Regions from separate parts of the Homo sapiens genome. Here all the other regions are linked to region 1. Evidence: promoter capture Hi-C in 16 types of primary human blood cells and fetal thymus (Javierre and others, 2016). All regions are on one chromosome and are shown on one strand. Each heading gives the region's core, a stretch centred on a gene start or on the middle of the fragment in contact. The rest is flanking DNA. Distances are from core to core; before and after follow the strand shown. Region 1 holds the start of RHO (rhodopsin). Region 2 overlaps TMCC1 (transmembrane and coiled-coil domain family 1). Region 3 overlaps TMCC1 (transmembrane and coiled-coil domain family 1). Region 4 overlaps TMCC1 (transmembrane and coiled-coil domain family 1).

What was found. The method cuts DNA at HindIII sites, captures the fragments that hold promoters and counts their contacts. A CHiCAGO score of 5 or more calls a contact.
Region 2: a fragment that was not itself captured here is called in contact with the fragment with the promoter of RHO in region 1 in 3 of 17 cell types (erythroblasts, total CD8 T cells and endothelial precursors); the score reaches 6.1 in erythroblasts.
Region 3: a fragment that was not itself captured here is called in contact with the fragment with the promoter of RHO in region 1 in 3 of 17 cell types (erythroblasts, M2 macrophages and M1 macrophages); the score reaches 6.1 in erythroblasts.
Region 4: a contact is called between a fragment that was not itself captured here and the fragment with the promoter of RHO in region 1, in 4 of 17 cell types (M1 macrophages, M2 macrophages, M0 macrophages and 1 more). The highest score is 6.1, in M1 macrophages.

What each region holds. Positions count from the first base shown.
Region 1 is chr3:129,524,915-129,530,628 of GRCh38, reverse strand. RHO (rhodopsin) reads right to left here and starts at 1,990. Exons shown (of 5, transcript NM_000539.3): 1 at 1,535-1,990. The coding sequence starts at 1,895. RefSeq lists enhancers at 588-1,313, 1,314-2,039 and a silencer at 4,237-4,437. The HindIII fragment of the contact is 8,320 bases long and covers 1-3,559 here.
Region 2 is chr3:129,809,448-129,814,900 of GRCh38, reverse strand. The region is part of intron 4 of TMCC1 (transmembrane and coiled-coil domain family 1); the gene reads left to right. Among named protein-coding and RNA genes, the nearest start is that of TMCC1, 82 kb to the left of the region's middle. The HindIII fragment of the contact is 375 bases long and covers 3,809-4,183 here.
Region 3 is chr3:129,838,692-129,843,916 of GRCh38, reverse strand. All of the region lies in intron 2 of TMCC1 (transmembrane and coiled-coil domain family 1), which reads left to right. Among named protein-coding and RNA genes, the nearest start is that of TMCC1, 52 kb to the left of the region's middle. The HindIII fragment of the contact is 2,949 bases long and covers 1,854-4,802 here.
Region 4 is chr3:129,875,073-129,881,069 of GRCh38, reverse strand. TMCC1 (transmembrane and coiled-coil domain family 1) reads left to right here. Exons shown (of 7, transcript NM_001017395.5): 2 at 511-761. Among named protein-coding and RNA genes, the nearest start is that of TMCC1, 16 kb to the left of the region's middle. The HindIII fragment of the contact is 886 bases long and covers 1,274-2,159 here.

The DNA of each region.
Region 1 (5,714 bases), core at 741-3,240:
ATAAGGGACACGAATCAGATCAGGGGGTCAGGATTGAACTGGGAACCCGGTAGGGAGTTTTGTGTGTGTGTGTGTGTGTGTGTGTGTGTGTGTGTTGTGTGTGTGTGTGTGTGTGTGTGTGTTTAGCAGAAGAATGCATCCTAATGTGGGGCAGAGTTCCTTGTTGGGAAGGAATGCAGAGGTGGTGGAAACCCAGAATTGGCAGTCCTTCCTCCCTCTCCCTTCTCGGGAAATGAAATAACCCGGACATGTGGGGGCCTCTCCTAGGAGCCATGAAGCAATGTGCAATGTTTTGCCCAGAGGAAGAAGAAGGAAATGATGGAATTCAGACATCTGTCCTGCTCACCACCCCATGAAGTTCCATAGGGAGAGTGGCCATATAGTTAATCAACCAAACTGGGACATTCCTAACAGTGAAAGGGACAATATTTGTAAACTGGGACTGACCCTGCAGAGAACAACCACCCGTAAGTGGCACACCCACCTTCTGGCCAGAACTGAGTGATCTGTGATTATTGAATGCAACAAACACCCAACAATGGCCAGAGATTCCCTGAGAATGGGACCGAGGCAGCAGCCTGGACATGGGGGAGACAGGGCAAGGCTGGCAGAGAGACGCTTGTGGCTGGCGGTAAGCTCTCCCCGTCACCCAGCTTTGCAATGGCTGCTTCTAGCGTCTCCTCCTGCATCTCAGCAGAGATATTCCTGGATCACAGCCAGGAGACCTAGGCTCTTGTTGCTGCCTGGCCACATCCCTAAATGAGTCTCTTCCCCTCTCCCTGCCTCAGTTTTCCTCTCTGTTAAGTGGGATCTGTTATCCCTGCAGCACCCCATCTGTTTTCCTGTTAAATGCAAGACATTATTCTAAAGCAAAAAGGAACTGCTTCAGAGCGGCTGCTTGCGGTTCTCAACACCAGGAGACTTGGAACGCGGCAGGGAGGCTGGAGGGGCACCTGAGGACAGGGGCTGAGAGGGGAGGCAGAGGATGCCAGAGGGGACCGAGCCCATTGCCCAGCACAGGGAAGACCCAATGACTGGAGAATGGAAAATCCACTTCCCACCCTGAGCTTGGGCCCCCAGAGAGGAGGGGTCTGGCTTGCCCAGCTCTCCCTCAGTGCCCAGCCTGGGTCTGACTCAGCACAGCTGCTCCAAGGGAAACAGAGGCTTGGTGCTGCAAACATGGCCCGAGATAGATGCGGGCTTCCAACTCAACTCTGCACCCGTCCCTGTGTGACGCCCCAGCAGGGCGCTTGACTTCTTTGAGCCTCAGCTCAGTTTTCTTGCTGTGAAATTAGACAAGCGCATATTGCTCCAAATAAGATCAAGGCAGTGTTCAGTGCCAGCCCTGCACAAACAGCAGCCCGGCTATCACCATGAATGGTGTTTGTTGACTGAATATATGAGGGCTTTGGATAACATTGACAGGACAGGAGAAGGGAGAAGGCCTCTCAGCCACCACCGCCAAGCCCGGGACTCTCCCAGACCCCTCCATGCTCCCGGGCTCCTGCACACCCCACCCACACCCGGCTCATACCGCCCAGGGTGGCAAAGAAGCCCTCCAAATTGCATCCTGTGGGCCCGAAGACGAAGTATCCATGCAGAGAGGTGTAGAGGGTGCTGGTGAAGCCACCTAGGACCATGAAGAGGTCAGCCACGGCTAGGTTGAGCAGGATGTAGTTGAGAGGCGTGCGCAGCTTCTTGTGCTGGACGGTGACGTAGAGCGTGAGGAAGTTGATGGGGAAGCCCAGCACGATCAGCAGAAACATGTAGGCGGCCAGCATGGAGAACTGCCATGGCTCAGCCAGGTAGTACTGTGGGTACTCGAAGGGGCTGCGTACCACACCCGTCGCATTGGAGAAGGGCACGTAGAAGTTAGGGCCTTCTGTGCCATTCATGGCTGTGGCCCTTGTGGCTGACCCGTGGCTGCTCCCACCCAAGAATGCTGCGAAGGCCTGAGCTCAGCCACTCAGGGCTCCAGCTGGATGACTCTGGGTTCTGACCCCCCCAGACCCTTATAAAGTGACCTCCCCCTCCTAAGCTCCTGGCTGAATCAGCATCTGGGAGATTGGGGGTGTTCATAATCATATTAATCCCCGCTGCAGAAACTGAGGGCCTAATTGGCTTCTAAGAGGGGCCAAGGTGACACTAGGAGGAAGCCTGAGGTCAGGGAGGAGAGGTACTCAGGATCCAGGAAAAGGGAGGAGAAGGTCCCCTAACTTCTGCATGACTTGTCTGTCCCAAGGTCCCAGCTCAGTCTGGTGGCCTGGGTTTGAAATAGGGACCATGGGCCTCTGTGCTATGTCCTCTGGACAGCTAGAGACTTTCTGGTTTATTCTCCCAGTCTCTCATCTCGTCACACAGCCCCTTACCTGTTCGTTCCCCCACAAGTTACCTCTGGAGTCATCCAGTCCCCACACTCCTCTGACAGGAGGAGCTCCATGAGGGCAGGGGCTGCAACCTGCAGCTTCCGTTTCTGGTGCCAGACACATAGCCTAGGGCCCAGGAGCCCAATCCTTGTTGCATGGAATTGGAATTCACTCTCTTGTTCGTTCATTAAACATTTATTTGCAGGCCCCTGGGAATACAAAGATGGAAAGAAACAGCCCTGCCCAGAGGAGCTCAGGGGCTGAGGAGGACTCAAATGTGGGAAGAAGCAGATTCCGTCCAGGGTGGCTGTGAGGTTGTGGAGACAGGGCCTGACTGCCTGGGGGTTGCAGTCTGGGAGGCCATGTTTGGGCCTTTGAGAGAAGGAGCAGTTTGCCAGGTGGCTAGGTGGGGAAGATCTGGGCTGGGGGCAGTTGTAATGGGTCTTGAACGCTAGGCCGGGGAACCTGGCTTTATCCAGAGGAAAGTGAGCAGTGGCTTGGGCAGATCACTGGTGTAGAAAGGTGACTCAAATGCCCCCAAAGATGGAGTGGAGGGAGGGAGGATGGAGGGGGCTACCAGAGCAGGGGAGGGGCAGAACCCTTCAGGGGACTCCAGTCTGAAGGGGAGGCTGGCCCTGGAGGCAGCAGACAGGGCACTGTTGGGGGAGGCCTAATCAGCCACGAGGGCCTCAAATGCCATGTACCAGGTGGCCCCACGAGGGCCGATTCCAGAATAGCAGGATGTACCGTGAGAAAGAAAGTAGTCAGAGCCTTGGGGGCAGATGACTGGGGGAAAATGGAGGCCAACACTGGCAGGTCCCCCTCTCCCCGTCGTCCAAGCAACATGATGACACCTCCCAGGAATGAAGTGGGGTGTCTGGGGCGGCCTGTGCAAGTGCTGAGAGTGCCCGACGTGCGGCCGCTCAGTGACCACTGTCCAGCCAACATGTGTATTGAGCACCTACTGTGGCCCAGACAAGGTGCTTGGTCCTTGGGGACACACAGGGTACACGAAAGAGCAAGCTCCTGCTCACAAGAAGCCAGTGTTTTTGTGGGGTGAGGGGGCACAGGGACCACAAACAAATAGAAGAGCGAATAACAGTAGGGACAGTTCAGTCGCAGCCACTCCCAACACAGGAGGCTTCTCTGAGAAGCTGGAGCTTGAGCTGAGAACGGAACAACAGGAGGAAGCTTCAGGGGAAGGACATCCAGGCGGAAGGACCCCTGAGAGTGCAAAGCCCTGATGCCTGGGAAATATCCCTTAATCTCTCTCTCACTGTCTCTCTTCCCACCCAGGATTCCCAGATCTGTCTGCTCAGAAGAGTGCCCCCTTCCCTGCAGCCCACCTGGGCTCCAGCCCCCTACCTGGCCTGGGTGGTGTTGGGTCTAACAGCGTTTGGCACACGTGGCAGGGCTAAGGCAGGGCGGGTGGGATGGGGCCTCTCGTAGTTTAAGGCGCTTGGCCTGGTGATTATGCCCAACGCTAATGAGGTTAAGGTGAGGGTTTGATTCTGACGTGGACCCTCATGGCCAGAAGGAGGGTGTCCTGGATGCCTTGGGTCAAGACTGACCCACAACTGGCCCCTCCCTGGCCGGGCTGAGCCCCCATCCCACACAGCTTAGCAGTACCTCAGCATCTTGCTTTTTGCATAGTGCTTCTGACAGCATGGAAGCTTTTTATTTGTGTTTTGTGCCCGTCTCCCTGCCTGTAACATGAGTCCACAAGGGTAAGCCTGGGTCTGTCTTGCTCACAACAGGGTTCCCAGAGACCAGCATGGTGCTTGGCCTGTAGTGGAAAGAGGTGGGATGATGTCTGTTTTGTTCACTGATGTGTCTCCAGGGCCTGGCACCTAGAAGGTGCTCCTGAATATTTGTTGAATGAACGAGTGAGTGGGGGAATGGACCTAGATGATCTCAGTACTTCCCCTCTCTGTCTCAGGTTCCTCCTTTGTGAGTTTCACAATTGCAACCTCATGGAGCCCTGGTGATGGGGAACTAACAGCCATCACTGAGGTGACAGTGCTCTTTATTCTGTAAAGCTTGACGAAGAAAAAAAAAGTTTTGAGACAAGGTCTCTGTCGCCCAGGCTGGAGTGCAGTGCCACAATCATAGCTCACTGTAGCCTCTGCCTCCTGGGCTCAAGCGATCCTCTCACCTCAGCCTCCTGAGTAGCTGGGACCACAAGTGCACACCACTAGTTTTTGTATTTTTTGTAGGGGTGGAGTCTCGCTATGTTGCCCAGGCTGGTCCTGAACTCCTGGCTCAAGCGATCCACCCTCCTCGGCCTCCCAAAGTGCCAGGATTATAGGAGTGAACCACCGTGTCCGGCCCAAGAAATTTTTTTTTAAACAAAAAATGCTCTTTGTTCAGGAAAACAGACTCATAGTGAGCTGGAAGGGTCATTCGAAGTCACCTACTCTGACCATCTCTGCTATATCCATTTTGCAGATGAAAAGACTGAGGCCTAGCTCTGCAGAGTTGCTCAGGTCCCGTTACAAATCAGTGACAGCCTGGGCTATAACCCACACAGTCAACTGGGCTTCCTGGGGTATCAGCTTCCCAAACCTGGCTATGCCTCCCTCCCCTCATCAAAGATAGCTCTCAGGAAAGACCAGCCAGCCATTCACACCATGGTATAAATGACTAAAGAAAGGTTTAGCTGGGGTAATGGAAAGGCCCTAGACTGAGTCACACAGGCCTGGCGTGGGGCAGTGGAAGCCTCGAGGAGAGGAGGCTGGATTCTAGCTGGTCTTTGAGTCACCATGGTAGTCCTGCTTCCTTCCCCTCTCTGGGCCTCAGTTTGCTCAGACGAGGAAGCCTCAGTGTGGGGTAGGGGCACACCCATCTATACAGTAAACCTCACCTGCTTTCTCCATGAGAGCCTGGTTCGTGAATCTTTAGACCCTATGGCCTTGGTTTCACTGTTCTCCCTCATTGGGCAAGGCTCTTTTCCACCCACCCTTACATCTGGACTGAGGCTACACAGCCTGGGTGCAGCCAGCTACCCCGCCCTCCCGAGAGTGTGCTTCGGTTCTCCACTCTGTAAAATGGGAATGATAATAGTGCCTACCTAATAGGATTATTGGGAGTGCTTGTAAGTGATCAATATATTTGTTGCTGACAGTATTAATCTCTTCCTGAGTCTCCTTCAGGTCTCCGCTCACACTCATGTCCTTGGAGAGACCACCCCTGACCATCCTACACACCAGGCACCCCCACCAGGTTTAGCTGTTTTGAGACAGGGTCTCACTCTGTCACCCAAGCTGGAGTGCAGTGGTGTGATCTTGGCTCACTGCAACCTCCTCTTCCTGGGTTCAAGCGATTCTCCTGCCTTAGCCTCCCAAGTAA
Region 2 (5,453 bases), core at 2,747-5,246, 280 kb before region 1:
ATGTACTTGGGAGCTCTGATGTTGGGTACATAGATACTTATAATTGTTACATCGGCTTCCTGAATTAACCAGTTTATCTTTATATAGTGACCTACTTTGTCTCTTCCTATAGTCTTCGATTTGTAATCTATTTTATATGATGTAAGTATAGCTACTTCTACTCTTTTTTGTTTTCCAGTTGCATAGACTATATTTTCCCCACCCCTTCACTTTCAGTCTATGTGTATCTTTGTAGGAGAAGTGGGTTCCTTGTAGGCAGCATATAGTTGGGTCTTATTTCTTTGTCCATTCAGCCACTTTATGCCTTTTAATTGGAGAATTGAGTCCATTTACATTCAGTGTTATTTTTGATAAGTAAGGGCTTAATACTGCCATTTTATTGCATATTCTGGTTGTTTTGTAACTCCTCTTTTCATCCCTTTTTTACTATTGTCTTTGTGGTTAAGTGATTTTCTCTGGTAGTATGTTAATTCATTGCTTTTTATTTTTAGTGAATCTGTTATAGGTTTTTGTATTTTGGTTACCATGAGGCTTACAACAAACATAACAAGTTATTTTAAAGAGATGGCAACTTATGTTAGATCACAAAGAAAAGATTAGAAACAAAGATTCTGCCACTTTAAATAGGAATTCACAGGATGAATACTTAAAATTAAAACACTGCAGGAAAATTAGCCTGTGAGTGAAGATCTGGTTCAGGAGTACACTGGGAAATTGTCTGGCATCTTATCTAAACCTTACGCTCAGGTCTTCTCCTAATGTCTTTAGAAATTTCATGGTTTCTGATTGTCAAGCCATTTCCACATAGGAAATGCAAGCCTATAACTCAACTCTTTGGGAGAATAAATGTATAAATAGTTATTCCAACAGTGGACTTTTATCACTTACCCTGCTTTATTATACAAAAAAAAAAAATAAGGAAAAAGAACTTAAGGACAAGTTTAGAATGGATGAACAATTAAAGTGTTTATTATCACAGATGACTTAGTAAATACATTTTCAAATTGTTAAATTTCCTTTAACATATATAAGTACTATTTCCTTAAGAATAATCTCTTCTTCAGTAGAAATGGAATAGCTTCATCTTTTTTTTTTTTAACTTTTATTTTAGGTTCAGGAGTGCATGGGTAGGTTTGTTAAATAGGTAAACTGCATGTTGCGGGGGTTTGTTGTACAAATTATTTCATTACCCAGGTAATAAGCATAGTACCCAATAGGTAGTTTTTCGATCCTCACCCTCCTCCCACTCTCCACCCTCAAGTAGGCCCTGGTGTCTGTTGTTCCCTTCTTTGTGTCCATACTAAATGTTTAACTCCCTCTTGTTAAGTGAGAACATGAGGTATATGGTTTTCTGTTCCTGTGTTAGTTTGTGTAGGATAATGGCCTCCAGCTCCGTAAGGACATGATCTCATTATTTTTTTATTGCTGTGTAGTATTCTGTGGTGTACATGTACCACATTTTCTTTATCCAGTCTACCATTGATGGGCATTTAGGATGATTCCATGTCTTTGCTATTGTGAATAGTGCTGCAGTGAACATACATGTGCATGTGTCTTTGTGGAATAATTATTTATATTCCTTTGGGAAAATACATAATAGGATTGCTGGGTTAAATGGTAATTCTGTTTTAAGTTATTTGAGAAATCGCCAGACTGCTTTCCATAATGGCTGGACTAATTTACATTCCTACTGGCAGTGTGTAAGTGTTCTCTTTTCTCCACAACCTCACCAGCATCTGTTATTTTTTGACTTTTTAATAATAGACATTCTGACTGGTGTGAGATGGTATCTTATTGTGGTTTAGATTTGCATTTCTCTAATGATTAGTGATGTTGAGTATTTTTTCATAAGCCTGTTGCTGCATGCATGTTATCTTTTGAAAAGTGTTCGTTCATGTCGTTTGCCCACTTTTTAATGAGGGTTGTCTGATTTAAGTTCCTTATAGATTCTGAATATTAGACCTTTATCTGATGTATAGTTTGCAAGTATTTTCAAGTATTTTCTCCCCTTCTGTAGGCTGTTTACTCTTTGATAGTTTCTTCTGTTGTGCAGAAGCTCTTTAGTTTCATTGGGTCCCATTTGTTTATTTTTGGTTTTGTTGCAATCGCTTTTGGCATCTTTGTTATGAAGTCTTTGCCAGGTCCTATGTCCAGATGGTATTTCCTAGGTTATCTTCAAAGGTTTTTATAGTTTTTCATTTTAGATTTAAGTCTTAAATATGCCTCATCTTTTTAAGCTTAAAATTATCTCACCTTAAAAACAATAACCTTAGTGTCTCTACCTTTTCTTTTTTTGGGGCGAGGTCGGGTATTTGTTTTGTGAAATCCAGCCAGTGAAGATAAACCAGCAATAAATTTATAGCTTCTTCAATAAAATATCTTGAACAGGGGTATTAAAAGTGAAATCTCAGTACCAGAGATTTGATTTGAGTATTGTGGATGTGATTGTAGTCCTACAGAGTACCAGCTTAAGTTTCTTTGTTATAGTTGTGGTGTTCTTCTTTCCTCTTTTACATAATGCCCTGTTTTTTTCTCATTGGCTTTTTTTTTTTTTTTTTTTTTTTGAGACAGAGTCTTGCTCTGTTGCCTAGGCTGGAGTGCAGTGGCGTGATCTCACTGCACCCTCCACCTCCCAGATTCAAGTGATTCTTCTGCCTCAGCTTCCCAAGAAGCTGGGATTACAGGTGCGTGCCACCACATCTAGCTAATTTTTGCATATTTAGCAGAGATGGAGTTTCACTGTGTTGGCCAGGCTGATCTTGATTTCCTGATCTCAGGTGATTTGCCCACCTTGGCCTCCCAAAGTGCTGGGATTATAGGCATGAGCCACCACGCCCAGCCATTTCTCATTGTTAACACAAAGGTAAAAGCCCTTCTGTACTAATGAATCTAAGAGTATTGAATAGTAAGAATCACCAAAACTTGATTTCTTTCTTTCTTTTTTTTTTTTTTAAATTGAGGCAGAGTCTTGCTCTGTCACCCAGGCTGGAGTGCAGTGGCACAACCTGGGCTCACTGCAACCTCCGCCTACTGGGTTCAAGTGATTCTCCTTCCTGAGCCTCCTGAGTAGCTGGGATTACAGGCGCATGCCACCACGCCCAGCTAAGTTTTGTATTTTTAGTAGAGACAGGGTTTCGCCATGTTGGCCAGGCTGGGCTCGAACCCCTGACCTCAGGTGATCTGCCCACCTCAGCCTCCCAAAGTGCTGGGATTACAGGTATGAGCCACTGCACCTGGCCCAAAACTTGATTTCTTTTTTAAAAAAATGCATAGTCTTGCATTTATTGAAGATTTGCTGAGAAAATTCCCATCTCAGGATCACTTTTCTCAAATGGTTGGACACAGTGGCTCATGCCCCTAATCCCAGCACTTTGGGAGGCTGATGTGGGAGGATCACTGGAGCCAGGAGTTCAAGACCAGCCTGGGCAACACAGTGAGACCCCTGTCTCTACAAGAAATTTTAAAAAAAACAGCCAGGTGTGGTGGCACACACCTGTAGTCCAAGCTACTTGGGAGGCTGAGGCAGGAGGATCACTTGAGGCCAAGAGTTGAGGTTACAGGGAGCTGTTGACTGTGCCACTGCAGTCCAGTCTGGGCAACAGAGTGATATCCTATCTCTAAAAAATTAAAAATAATATATAAAATGAATGGCCATGAAAGTGAGCATCCTAATTCTGATCTATTTGTTTCTGAGCATTTCTTTGTAAGCTTAACAATGGAGTAGTGCATCAGAGTAACTGATCAATATAACCTTCCCCATGTGGATGCTCTGAGGAATACGCTTTAGAATTTTAGTGATATAGAAGCTTATTTAGAAGAACATACACAGTCTTAGGGAGCATACTCTTGGTTTATTAATTAAAAAAACTCATATGTTAAGCAGCTGTGCAAATGCACATTTAAATAACCATTTTACCATAGGATAGGACTAGAATACCTTAAACATTGTTTTCTGCCTTAAGCTCACCACAGGCTTTCCAATAACATTAAACTTGTTTCAACAGTTGTAGATGTTCAAGACACAGCTATACATTCTTCTAGGTGAAAGAACAGTATCCAGGTTTTCTGCTCCATAGAATTGTTATTTTCTATAAAAATGCAAAACACCTGAAGGAAACAATTTACCTAATTTTGTTGTTGTAAATGTGATTGCTTATGAATTGAAACATTGCTTTGATAAGCTTCCTTCCATATTCGTTGATGTCATACATTGTCTTTATATTATATAATTTGTGATGAGTTATACCATAGAATCAAGTTCAGTTTAAGCAGATAAATGCTTGTGAGATTAACATATTCTTCTTAGGAATGTTTGCCCATTGAGCCTTAAGATATAGGGTGAACTTGCTTAAGTTTCTGTACATAAAGATAAAATGCAAGCTGTTTTCTATTGTCAGGAGTTTAGCTTTATGAGAATGAGTATAAAGGTTTTGTGATCCGATTATAGTTCAGGAGGATTTAGGCCACAGTATAAATTACCTGTTTTGGTTCTGCGTACTAGTATGTGATATATGTCTCTTGATTTTTGCTTAGTTTTGTTTTGTTTTTTTTGGGAGACAGTGTCTCTCACTCTGTTGCCCAGTGGTGCAATCTTGGCTCACTGCAACCCCTGCCTCCTGGGTTTAAGTGATTCTCCCACCTCAGCCTCCCTAGTAGCTGGGACTACACGTGCCCGCCACCATGCCCAGCTAATTTTTGTATGTTTTTGTAGAAATGGGGTTTTACCATGTTGCCCAGGCTGGTCTTGAACTTGTGAGCTCAAGCCATCCACCCACCTTGGCCTCCCAAAGTGCTGGGATTACAGGTGTGAGCTACCGCATCCAGCCTGATTTTTGCTCATAGTTCTGTATCAGTATCTTTTGTTGCCTTAGGGTGCAGAGATGTGTGGATTAGTACAGAAATTCAAGACAAGTTTGACTTTCACATGTTGTTTTCATTGTTATGAGGATTTGTAGCTCTAATGTTTTTCTACATAAAATCAGTAAAACTAAATAAAATCAGGGTCCTTATTTAGATGAGTAACTTGCTTTGTCACATCAAGATTAAATGTACTGTTTTAGTGGGATTTACCTAAAAAGAGGTAAAAAAAGAATTGGCTACTACTGAAACCGGGAAAATTGTTTGCAAAATGCATTAATGTTCAGTATGGAAAATACCAAAAGCTATTCTTTTTTGCAGGATTTCAGTACTTTAACTAAATGTTTTTCTATAAATACTGTCTTTACCTCTCTCTCTCTTCTTTTGCACCCTGGAGATTTTTTTTTTCTTCCTGTCAGTTTGTATCTCTTATCATTTACTGTCTGTGGCTTCACAATACTGTATTGTTACAGTACCATTTAAAAAATTACAGCTGGAAGCTCTGAAATGCATCCTGACAAAGGAAGGCTGAATTGTGTGGCTTTAGGCCAACAGTAAGCTACAGGAACAAATGAAATTAAGAAGTTAATATTATT
Region 3 (5,225 bases), core at 2,079-4,578, 310 kb before region 1:
TTTTTGGTAGTGTCTGTTTTGTTTTGGTATTAGAGTAATGTTAGTCTCATAAAATGAGTTGGGAAATGTTCCCTTCTCTTTTTTGCAAGAGAGAGTAGAATTGTTATTATTTCTTATTTAAATGGTTGGTCGAATTAACCATTAAAACCATCTGGGTCTGGAGTTTTCTTTTTTGGGAAGTTTCAAACTACAAATTCACTTTCTTCAATAGAGTTATTTAGGTATCTGTTTTTCCTTCTATATTTTTTGTAGTTCATGTCATATTTCAAGGAATTGGTTTATTTTATCTAAGCTATCAAATTTAGGGTCATAGAGGTGTTCGTAATATCTTTTATTATTCTTTTTTAACATCTATTGGATCAGTATTGATGTCCTTTCTCCTTCATTCCTGATATTGGTAATTTATGTCTTTGTTTATTTCTTGGATAGCCTGGCTATAAGTTTATCAATTTTATCAATCTTTTCAAAGAACCAGCTTTTGCTTTCATTGGTTTTTCTACATTGTGTTTCTTTTGTCAGTTTTGTTGATTTCTGCTCTAATTTTTATTATTTTTTCCTTCTTTTTTTTTTGAGACGGTGTCTTGCTGTGTCTCCTAGGCTGGAGTGCAGTGGTGCGATCTCGGCTCACTGCAAGCTCCGCCTCCCAGGTTCATGGCATTCTCCTGCCTCAGCCTCCTGAGTAGCTGGGACTACAGGCACCTGCCACCACGCCCGGCTAATTTTTTTGTATTTTCAGTACAAATGGGGTTTCACTGTGTTAGCTGGGATGGTCTCGATCTCCTGACCTCGTGATCTGCCCACCTCAGCCTCCCAAAGTGCTGGGATTATAGGCGTGAGCCACCACACCTGGCCTCCTTCTGTTTTAGTTATAATTTGTTCTTTTTTTACTGTGCCAAGGTAGAAGCCTAGGTTGTTGGTTTTAGGTCTTCTTTTATAAGATATAATTAAGACTATACATTTTCCTCTAAGTACTGTTTTAGCTGCATTTCATAAATTTTGATAATGTTGTATTTTTGTTTACTTTGCAAGTATTTTTTAAGGTAGATAAACTTCCCTTCTGTTTCCTGCTATACTTGCAAATATTTTTAAAATTTCCTTATGACTTCATCTTTTAATCATGGGTTATTTAGAAGTGTATTGTTTAATATCCACATATTTGGAGGCACTTTCCTAATATATTTTGTTATTGATTTTAGTTTTATTCTATTATGGTCTGAGAATGTACTTTGTATTTTTATTTATCTTGAAGATTTCTTTTATGGCACAGAATATGGTATATCTTTGTGAATGTCCTATGTGTACTTGAAAAGAATGTATATTCAGCTGTTGTTCAGTGGAGTGCCCTACAAATGTCACTCAGGTCAAATTAGGTGATAGTACTGAACTGTTGAGGTCACATCTATCTGCTTACGTGTGTGTGTGTGTGTGTGTGTGTGTGTTTTGTTTTTTTTTAGACAAAGTCTCGCTGTATCACCCAGGCTGGAATACAGTGGCACGATCTCTGCTCACTGCAACTTCTACCTCCCAAGTTGCAGTGATTCCCGTGCCTCAGTCTCCTGAGTAGCTGGGACTACAGGTGCATGTCACCAAGCCCAGCTAATTTTGGTAGTTTTGGTAGAAACAGGGTTTTGCCATGTAGGCCAGGCTGGTCTTGAACTCCTAGCCTCAAGTGATCTGCCCACCCCAGCCTCCTAAAGTGCTGAGATTACCACGGTGAGCCACTATGCCTGGCCAATCTGCTTACTTGGTTTATCAATTACTAAGGGTTAACTGTTAATAAAAGTCTACTATAATTGTAATTTGTCTTTATTTTCTGTCATACCTATCAGTTTTGCCTCATGTATTTTGAAGCTTTGTTTTAAGGTACATACACATTTAGAATTGTTATGTCTTCTTAGGAACTGACCCTATTATAATACCCCTTGTATTAGTTTGTTTTCACAATGCTATAAAGAACTACCTGAGACTGGGTAATCTATAAAGAAAAGAGGTTTAATTGACTCACAGTGCCGCATGGCTGGGGAGGCCTCAGGAAACTTATAATCATGGCAGAAGGGAAAGTAAGTCACGTCTTACATGGTGGCAGGAGTGGGGGCAGAACTGCCACACACTGTAAAACCATCAGATCTTGTGAGAACTCACTATCACAAGAACAGCAGCTTGAATTTCTCCCCCAGAAAATGGGTTTTTCTTTTCTACTACATGGTAAGGCTGCAAATTTTCCAAACTTTTATGCTCTGCTTCCCTTTTAAACATAAGTTCCAATTTCAGACTATCTCTTTGTGAACACATATGACATACAATGAACATTTTCATTATTATTATTATTATTTTGAGAGGGAGTCTCACTCTGTTGCCCAGGCTGGAGTGCAATGACACGATCTTGGCTCACTGCAACCTCTGCCTCCCAGTTCAAGTGATTCTCCTGCCTCAGCCTCCCAAGCTGGGACTACAGGTGTATGCCACCATGCCCAGCTAATTTTTGTATTTTTAGTGGAAACGGAGTTTCACCATATTGGCCAGATTGGTCTCGAACTTCTGACGTCAGGTGATCCACCTGCCTTGGCCTCCCAAAGTGCCGGGATTACAGGCATGAGCCACTGTCCCCGGCTGACAGTACGCTTTCAGAAAAAGCCAGGTCACATCTTGAATGCTTTGCTGCTTAGAAATTTCTCCTGCCAGATACTCTAAATCATGTCTTTCAAGTTCAAAGTTCCGCAGATCTCTAGGGCAGGGACAAAATGCCACCAGTCTGTTTGCTAAGGCATAGCAAGAGTGACCTTTGCTCCAGTTCACAATAAGTTTCTCATCTCCATCTTGGGCCACTTCAGCCTGGATTCATTGTCCATATCACAATCAGCACTTTGGTAAAAATCTTCTAACAAGTCTCTAGGAAGTTCCAAACTTTCCCACATCTTCCTGCCTTCTTCTGAGCCCTCCAAACTTTTCCAGCCTCTGTCTGTTACCCAGTTCCAAAGTCACTCCACATTTTCTGGTATCTATAGTAGTACCCCATTCCTGGTACCAATTTTCTGGGTTAGTCCATTTTCACACTGCTATAAAAAACTACCTGAGACTGGGTAGTTTATAAAGAAAAGAGGTTTAATTTGACTCTCAGCCCCACATGGCTGGGAAGGCCTCAGGAAACTTAAAATCATCGCAGAAGGTGAAGGGGAAGAAAGGCATGTCTTACATGGCAGCAGGAGTGGGGTGGGGAACTGTCACATACTTTTAAACAATCAGATTTCATGAGAACTCATTATCACAAGAACAGGGGGAAACCACCCCCGTGATCCAGTCGCCTCCCACCAAGTCCCTCCCTTGACATGTGTGGATTACAATTCAAGATGAGATTTGGGTAGGGACACAGAGCCAAACCAGATCACTCCTCTTTATCCTTGACAATCTTTCTTGTTCTGAAATCTACTTTGTCTGCAATTCATTTGGCTACAGTAGCTTTCTTTTGATTAATTAGTGTTTGTATGGTATATTTTTCTCCATTGTTTTATTTTTTTCCTCTTTAAATCTTTGCTTAGCAGGCTTCTTGTGGACCGAATATAGCTTGATCTTGCTTTTTTTTTTTTTTTTTTGAGACAGGTTCTCACTCTGTCACCCTGGTTGGAGTACAGTAGCATGATCATGGCTCATTGCAGCCTTGACCTCCTGGGTTCAATCAATCCTCCCACCTCAATGTCCTAAGTAGCTGGACTTACAGGCATATGCCACCATGCCCAGCTATATTTTGTATTTTTGTAGAGAAAGGGTTTCACCATGTTGCCCAGGGTAGTCTTGGGCTCCTGGGCTCAAGCGATCCTTCTGCCTCAGCCTCCCAAAGTGCTGGGATTACAGGTGTGAGCCATTACACCCGGCCTGGTCTTGCTTTTTTTTTTCTCCCCCAGTCTGACAATCTGTTTTTTAACTGGTAAGACTATTTACATTTAAAGTGATTATTAGTATAATTAGATGAAAACCTACCATCTTGCTAGCTCTTCTCTATTTGTTGCATTTGTTGTTTGTTTCTTTTTTTATTTTTTGAGACAAGGTCTCTCTCTCACCCAGGCTGGAGTACAGTGGCATAATTATGGTTCACTGTAGCCTGGACCTCCTGGGCTCAAGTGATTCTCTCACCTCGGTCTCCCCAGTAGCTGGTACTACAGGTGCACACCACCATGCCTGGTGAATTTTTAAATTTTTCGTAGATATGGGGTCTCACTATGTTGCCCAGGCTGGTCTCAAACTCTTGGGCTCAAGCGATCCTCCTACCTCTTGAGTAGCTGGGACTATAGGTGTGTGCCACCATGCCTAGCTAATTTTTCTATTTTTTTGTAGAGAAGAGGTCTTGCCGTGTTGCCTAGGCTGGTCTTAAACTTCTGAACTGAAATAATTCTGCTGCCTCAGCCTCCTGAGTAGCTGGGACTATAGGCATGCGCCTGTGTGGTTTTTTTCCTACTGCCTTCTTTGGTGTGATTTTTTTTTTAATTCCATTTTACTTTATTGACTTATCACTTAGATTTCTTTAAAAAGGTTTTTAGTGGTTGCTTTTTTGTTTACATTATACATTTTAAAATAACCTGAGTTTTTCAGGTGTTTTGCCACTTCGCATTTAGTTAAAGTATGGTTATAGTGTGTTCCCAGTTCTTCCCTCTTTTCCCTTTTGCCATTGTTGTTAAGCGTTTTACTTTTACCTGTGGGGTACTTATCCAATACATTGTTACTGCTTTAAGCAATTATCTTTTAGAGCAATGAAAAATAAAAAAATTATACTTTACCTTCATTTATTCTTCATTTTGTAGATTCAAGCTTCTCACTTTTATATATTTTTCTACCTGAAGGACTTCTGTTAATATTTCTTATAGGATGGGTCTCCTGGCAGTGAATTCTCTATTTTTGCTTGTCTGGAGGAAAGCCTTTATTTTGTACGTATGAAGGATATTTTCACTGGATGTAGAATACTGGATGGGCAGTTTTCTTTTCAGCACTTTAAAGTTGTCACTCCACTGTCTTACGAAGTTTCTGATGGTAAGTTTATTATAATCTTATATCTTTATTCCTCTGTATGTAACATATTTTCCCCTCTTTGACTGCCTTCAAGAGCCTTTGGCTTTCAGCAGTTTGAATATGATATGCCTAGATATCCTTTTTTTTTTTTTTTTTTTTTTTTTTTGAGACAGAGTCTTGCTCTGTCACCCAGGCTAGAGTGCATTGGCGCGATCTCGGCTCACTGC
Region 4 (5,997 bases), core at 467-2,966, 350 kb before region 1:
CAACATGGTGAAACCCAGTCTCTACTGAAAATACAAAAATTAGCCTGGCATGGTGGTAAGCGCCTGTTATGCCAGCTACTTGGGAGGATGAGGCAGGAGAATCGCTTGAACCTGGGAGGTGGAGGTTGCAGTGAGCCAAGATTGCACCATTGCACTCCAGCCTGGGCAACAAGAGCAAAACTCTGTCTCAAAAAAAAAAAAAAAAGAAAAAAAATTTGCAGCCTGAGAACTGATATACTTCAGACCAGAAGTATTTCAGATTTTTTTTAGATTTTGGAATATTTGTATTATACTTATCAGTTGAGCATCCCTAGTTGGAAAGTCTGAACTCTGAAATGCTCCAATGAGTGTGTCTTTTGAGCATCATGTTGGGACTCAAAAGTTTTCAGATTTTGGGGCATTTTGGGTTTTGGCCTTTCAAAGTTGGGATGCTCAGCCTGTCATTGCTTGTCAGACAGTCATTTGCATTCAGTAGTTCTTTCTCCTTTTCTTGCTTCTCTGTCCCAGCAGGTATTAATCTCTGGAGAAGACACATCCACAGTTAGCACTTTCTTCAGATGCTGACGCTCGGTGAACAGTTGCCTTTGGTCACAAGATTTAGAAGACACAGTGTCCATCCTCCCAGATTGGATCTCTTTTTCATATGGATCTTCTGTTTCTATGTCTTTTTAAAAAATAACTTTTTGGGAAACCTTTTGGATTACAACTGTTCATCCTCACCTATGCAAAGAAAGGGAAGCTATTGCTGGGATTTTGAGGAGGTATGTCGTTTTTTCTTCTACTGCAAAATCACATCACCCAGGCACTCAGAACAGTATAAAATAATTATACTTTCCTCTCTATAACTCAGTTCTCATTCATTTACTTGTTCCATCTTCCTTTCTCCCATTTTCTCTTTTTTTCTAGCACCTGTAGCTCAACAAGAACTTTCTTAATGTATATAATGAAACAGCTCATTTCCTACATTCTTCCTGAATGTTATTAGACACGGGATTAGACTTACAAGTAACGGGGAGCAGCTTGAATTTTTTTCTTTTAAATTAAATCTTTATTTTTTATAATAGAGACAGAGTCTTGCTGTATTGCCCAGGCTGGTCTCAAACTCCTGGGCTCAAGTGATCCCCCACCTCAGCTTCCCAAAGTGCTGGGATTACAGGTGTGAGCCACTGTGCCCAGCTGTAGCTTGCATTCTTATTTCTCAAATTGAAATTGTGACTTGGGTAAACTGAATTTGTTCTCATTCTGCATAGACACTGGATGGTTTAGGAAAGCTTAGTAACGTTAGCATAATATTATGGCTGTATGATTTCATAGTCTGGTTCAGTTTCATTGGCAAGAGGAGGTGTGATATTGTAGAGTTTTGAACTAAAAATTGAGACTTCAGTCCCAGGTTTGACATTATTACTTCCATGCTTTGAGAGTTAAAGTATGTTTGTTTTCTCACCTTTAAAATGGGCTTATCATTACTTGCTTTACACAGCTCATGGGGTTATTGAGAATCAGATAAGAAAATTTGCATGAAAGATTTTTATCAATGTAAAGGATTGTTATTGCGTTGTAGACAGTTATAGGTATATCTGTTGTTTTCACTCAAAGACTCAATTTTTCTTTCTGAAAACCTTTTTTTTTAAGACAACGTCTTGTTCTGTTGCCCAGGCTGGAGTGCAAGGGTGCAGTCGTAGCTCACAGCAATCTCACATTCCTGGGCACAAACAGTCCCCTGCATCAGTGTCTCAGGTAGCTGGGACTGCAGGCATATGCCACTGTGATCAGCTAATATTTTTATTTTTTGTAGAGATGAGGGTCTCGCTATGTTGCCCATGCTGGTCTCGAACTCTTGGGCTCAAGTGATCCTTCCACCTCGGCCTCCCAAAATCCAGGGATTACAGGCATGAGCCACCATCCCTGGCCTGAAATAAATAAATAATGCATAAATGTCATTTTTAAATTTATGATGACAAATTCTAAAGAGAAAAGTAAAAGGAAAGCAGGAATAGAATGTATTGAGGGGAAGGGGTTGAGTGTTCACAGATGGCTTCATACAGAAGGTGACATTTGAGTAAGGGCTTGAAAGAAGTGAAGGAGTGAGCCATACACATATATGAGAAGAGCATTCTAGGCATAGTGAATCACAGTGTACATGTCCTGAGACAGAAGCTTGCCTGAGGAATGGTGAGGGTGGGTCCTTATTTTGTGGTGCTTTATGGAAGTGCTTTTCAAACTTCAATGTGCACATGAATTACCTTGGGGGTTTCTATTAAAATTTAGACTCTAATTTCATAGGTCTGGGGTAGGGCCTAATTCTAATAAGCTCCCAGGTGCTGCTGCTGCTGCTGGTCTTTGTAGGACTTCAGCATTTACACTGAGCAAAATAGGAAGTCTTTGGAGCGTTTGGGCAGGGTGACATGATCTGATTTATATTTTGACATTTTCATTTCTTTGGCTGCTGAGTAGATAGTGGTGGATTGGGCAAGGACAAAAGCAGAAATACTAGTTTGGAGCCTATTACTGTAATCAAGGTGAGAGAAAATGTGGTTTGTGCTAGAGAGTAGCAGTGACTGTGGTAACATGATCTGATTCTGGATATATTTTTCAAGTAGAGTCAGCAGGTTTTGCTGATAGATTGGATATGTGCTGTGAAAGAAAGGAAAGAGTTAAGGTTTTTGTATTGAGTTTCTGGAAGAATGCAGTTGTCATTTATTGAGATGGAGAAGACTGAAAGAAAGAGAAACAAGTTTGCAGGAGAAGTAACAGAAGCTCAGTTTTAGACATAAATTAAACATGCCTATTAAGACTTAGAGATGTTGGCCAGGCGCAGTGGCTCACGCCTGTAATCCCAGTGCTTTGGGAGGCCGAGGCGGGCAGATCACCTGAGGTCAGGAGTTCAAGACCAGCCTGGCGAATGTCGTGAAACCCCATCTCTACTAAAAAAAAAAGTAAAAAATTACCTAGGCATGGTGGTAGGCGCCCGTAATCCCAGCTACTTGGGAGGCTGAGGCAGGAGAATCACTTGAACTTGGGAGGTAGAGGTTGCAGTGAGCCGAGATTGCGCCATTATACTCCAGCCTGGGCTAAAAGAGCGAAACTCTGTCTCAAAAAAAAAATAAAAATAAAAATAAAAACATTAAAAAAAAAGCTGGTCACGGTGGCTCACGCCTGTAATCCCAGCACTTTGGGAGGCCGAGGCGGGTGGATCATGAGATCAGGAGATCAGGAGATCAAGATCACCCTGGCTAACATGGTGAAACCGCATGTCTATTAAAAATACAAAAAATTAGTTGTGCGTGGTGGCACATTCCTGTATTTCCAGCTACTTGGGAGGCTGAGGCAGGAAAATTGCTTGAACCTGGGAGGTGGAGGTTGCAATGAGCCAAGATTGCGCCACTGCACTCCAGCCTGGGTCATAGAGTGAGACTCTCTGTCTCAAAAAAAAAAAAAAAAAAAAGACTTAGGGATGTTGAGTAAACAGTTGGGTTTATGAATCTGGAATTCAGGAGAGAAGGATCTGCTGGACATATACCTCTGGGTATTGTTAAAATAGATTATATTTAAATCCAGAAAGCTGGATGAGATCTCCAATTAAGTGAGTAGAGATGGAAGTAAGAAGCAGTTGAAGAACTTAATTTCCAGAGTTTAGAGTTGGGGAAGATGAGAAGGAAACATCAAGGAAGACTTAGTAGCAGTGGCTGGAGAGTTAAGATGAGAACTAGGTTAGAGGGTATCCTGGAGTCTAATGAGGAAAGTGTTTCAAGGAATAGGGAGTGATCAACTGTGTCAAATACTACAATTGAGATGAGGGCTGAGAATTAACTATTTGATTTAACAATGTGGCAGTTATTGGTAACCTTGATAAAGGGTAGTTTTAGTGGAGCGGTTGGAGGTTAAAGACTGATTGGAGATGTTGTCTTTCCAAATGCAAAACATTTCCTAAACCCTGATGAGACTGGGTATTCAGATAAAAATCTGTAACTCTGGGTAGATGTTCTTGGCAGGAGAAGATTTAAGATATGTAAGTAATATTATTAACAACTGTCTTTATTAATTATTCATTTAAAGTAATATTGGAAAATTTACTTTGAGGAGATCTTCAGGGTTTATTTATTTATTTATTTTGAGATGGAGTCTCGCTCTGTTGTCCAGGCTGGAGTGCAGTGGCACGATCTCAGCTCACTGCAAGCTCCGCCTCCCAGTTTCACACCATTCTCCTGCCTCAGCCTCCCGAGTAGCTGGGACTACAGGCGCCTGCCACCATGCTTGGCTAATTTTTTTTTGTATTTTTAGTAGAGACGGAGTTTCACCATGTTAGCCAGGATGGTCTCGATCTCTTGACCTTGTGATCCTCCCGCCTCAGCCTCCAAAAGTGCTGGGATTACAGGCGTGAGCCACCGCGCCCAGCCCTTCAGGGTTTATTTTTTTTAATTTTATTTATTTATTTTTCTGTAGAGATGAGGTCTGCATATGTTGCCCAGGCTGGTCTCAAACTCTTGGCTTCAAGCAATCCTCCTGCCTCAGCCTTCTAAAATGCTGAGATTATAGGCATGAGCCACTGAACCTGGCTCCTTTATTTTTGATTCATGTCTTCAGGATTTTAAAAATTGTCCTTAGCAATTATTATGAAAAAGAAAAAATGTAAGGATTGGCTAGGAGCTAATTGGCTGTCAGCTACTCTTCTTTCTTAGGTTATAGGGCTGAAAGGCACTTTAAATATAGTCTTTGTTCTGTCAGTGGGGCTTGTGAGAACCTCTTCACACTTATATTTATTCTTTTTTTTTTTTTTTTTTTTGAGCCAGGCATTAAACCTGGGTTCAAATCACTAGTGCTTACTTAAGTCATTGTAAAGCAGTTAGCAGGTTGTGTTCAACATAGCAATTATCAAAAGAATGAAGGTATAACTTTAAGGACCAATGATATTTTAAACTTTTTTTTTTTTTTTTTGAGATGAAATCTTGCTCTTGTTCCCCAGGCTGGAGTGCAGTGGTGTGATCTCGGCTCACTGCAACCCCGTCTCCCAGGTTCAAGCAATTCTCCTGCCTCAGCCTCCCAGGTAGCTGGGATTACAGGCATGTGCCATCACACCCAGCTAGTTTTTTGTATTTTTAATAGAGACGGGGTTTCTCCGTGTTGGTCAGGCTGGTTTTAAACTCCCAATCTCAGGTGATCCGCCCGCCTTGGCCTCCCAAAGTGCTGGGATTACGGGCGTGAGCCACGGCACCGGCCCTATTTTATTATTCTTTGGTAAAAGTATCCAGTCTATGTAGCATACTCAGCCAGATGAGCTTATGTAAATAACCAAAGTGGGTGGGTGTGGTTAGACATAACTTATTCTTGGCTTTTATGGAAGACCTCTTTTTCTTCATTTGTTTATTAAAAAAAATATGTATTGCTTACTTTCATATTTGTTGGCCCTGTTGTAGGTGTTGGAGATACAGTGGATAAAAGTTTCTACCCTAATGGAGTTTATGTTTTAGTGGAAATGAAATAACAGATTGGGGCCAAGACTTGTTAGTGGTCTCACACTGGTATGAGTAATCTTTTTTGGGTGTGTTTGTGTTGTTTTTTTTTTTTTTTTTTTTTTTTTTGAGATGGAGTCCTCCTCTGTCCCCTAGGCTGAAGTGCAGTGGTGCGATCTTGGCTGACTGCAACCTCTGCCTCCAGGGTTCAAGCGATTCTCCTGCCTCAGCTGCCAAGTAGCTGGGATTACAGGCGCCGGCTACCTCACCCAGCTAATTCTTTTTCGTATTTTTAGTAGAGACAGGGTTTCGCCATGTTGGCCAGGCTGGTTTCGAACTCCTGACCTTAGGTGATCACCTGCCTCAGCCTCCCACAGTGCTGGGATTACAGGTGTGAGCCACCGCACCTGGCCATTTTTTTTTTTTTTAAATAGCAATGGAATCTTGCTGTATTGCTCAGGCTAGATGAACTACTGGGCTCAAGTGATCCGCCTACCTTAGATCCTGAGTAGCTGCGACTACAGATGTGCCACCATGCCTGCTTCTG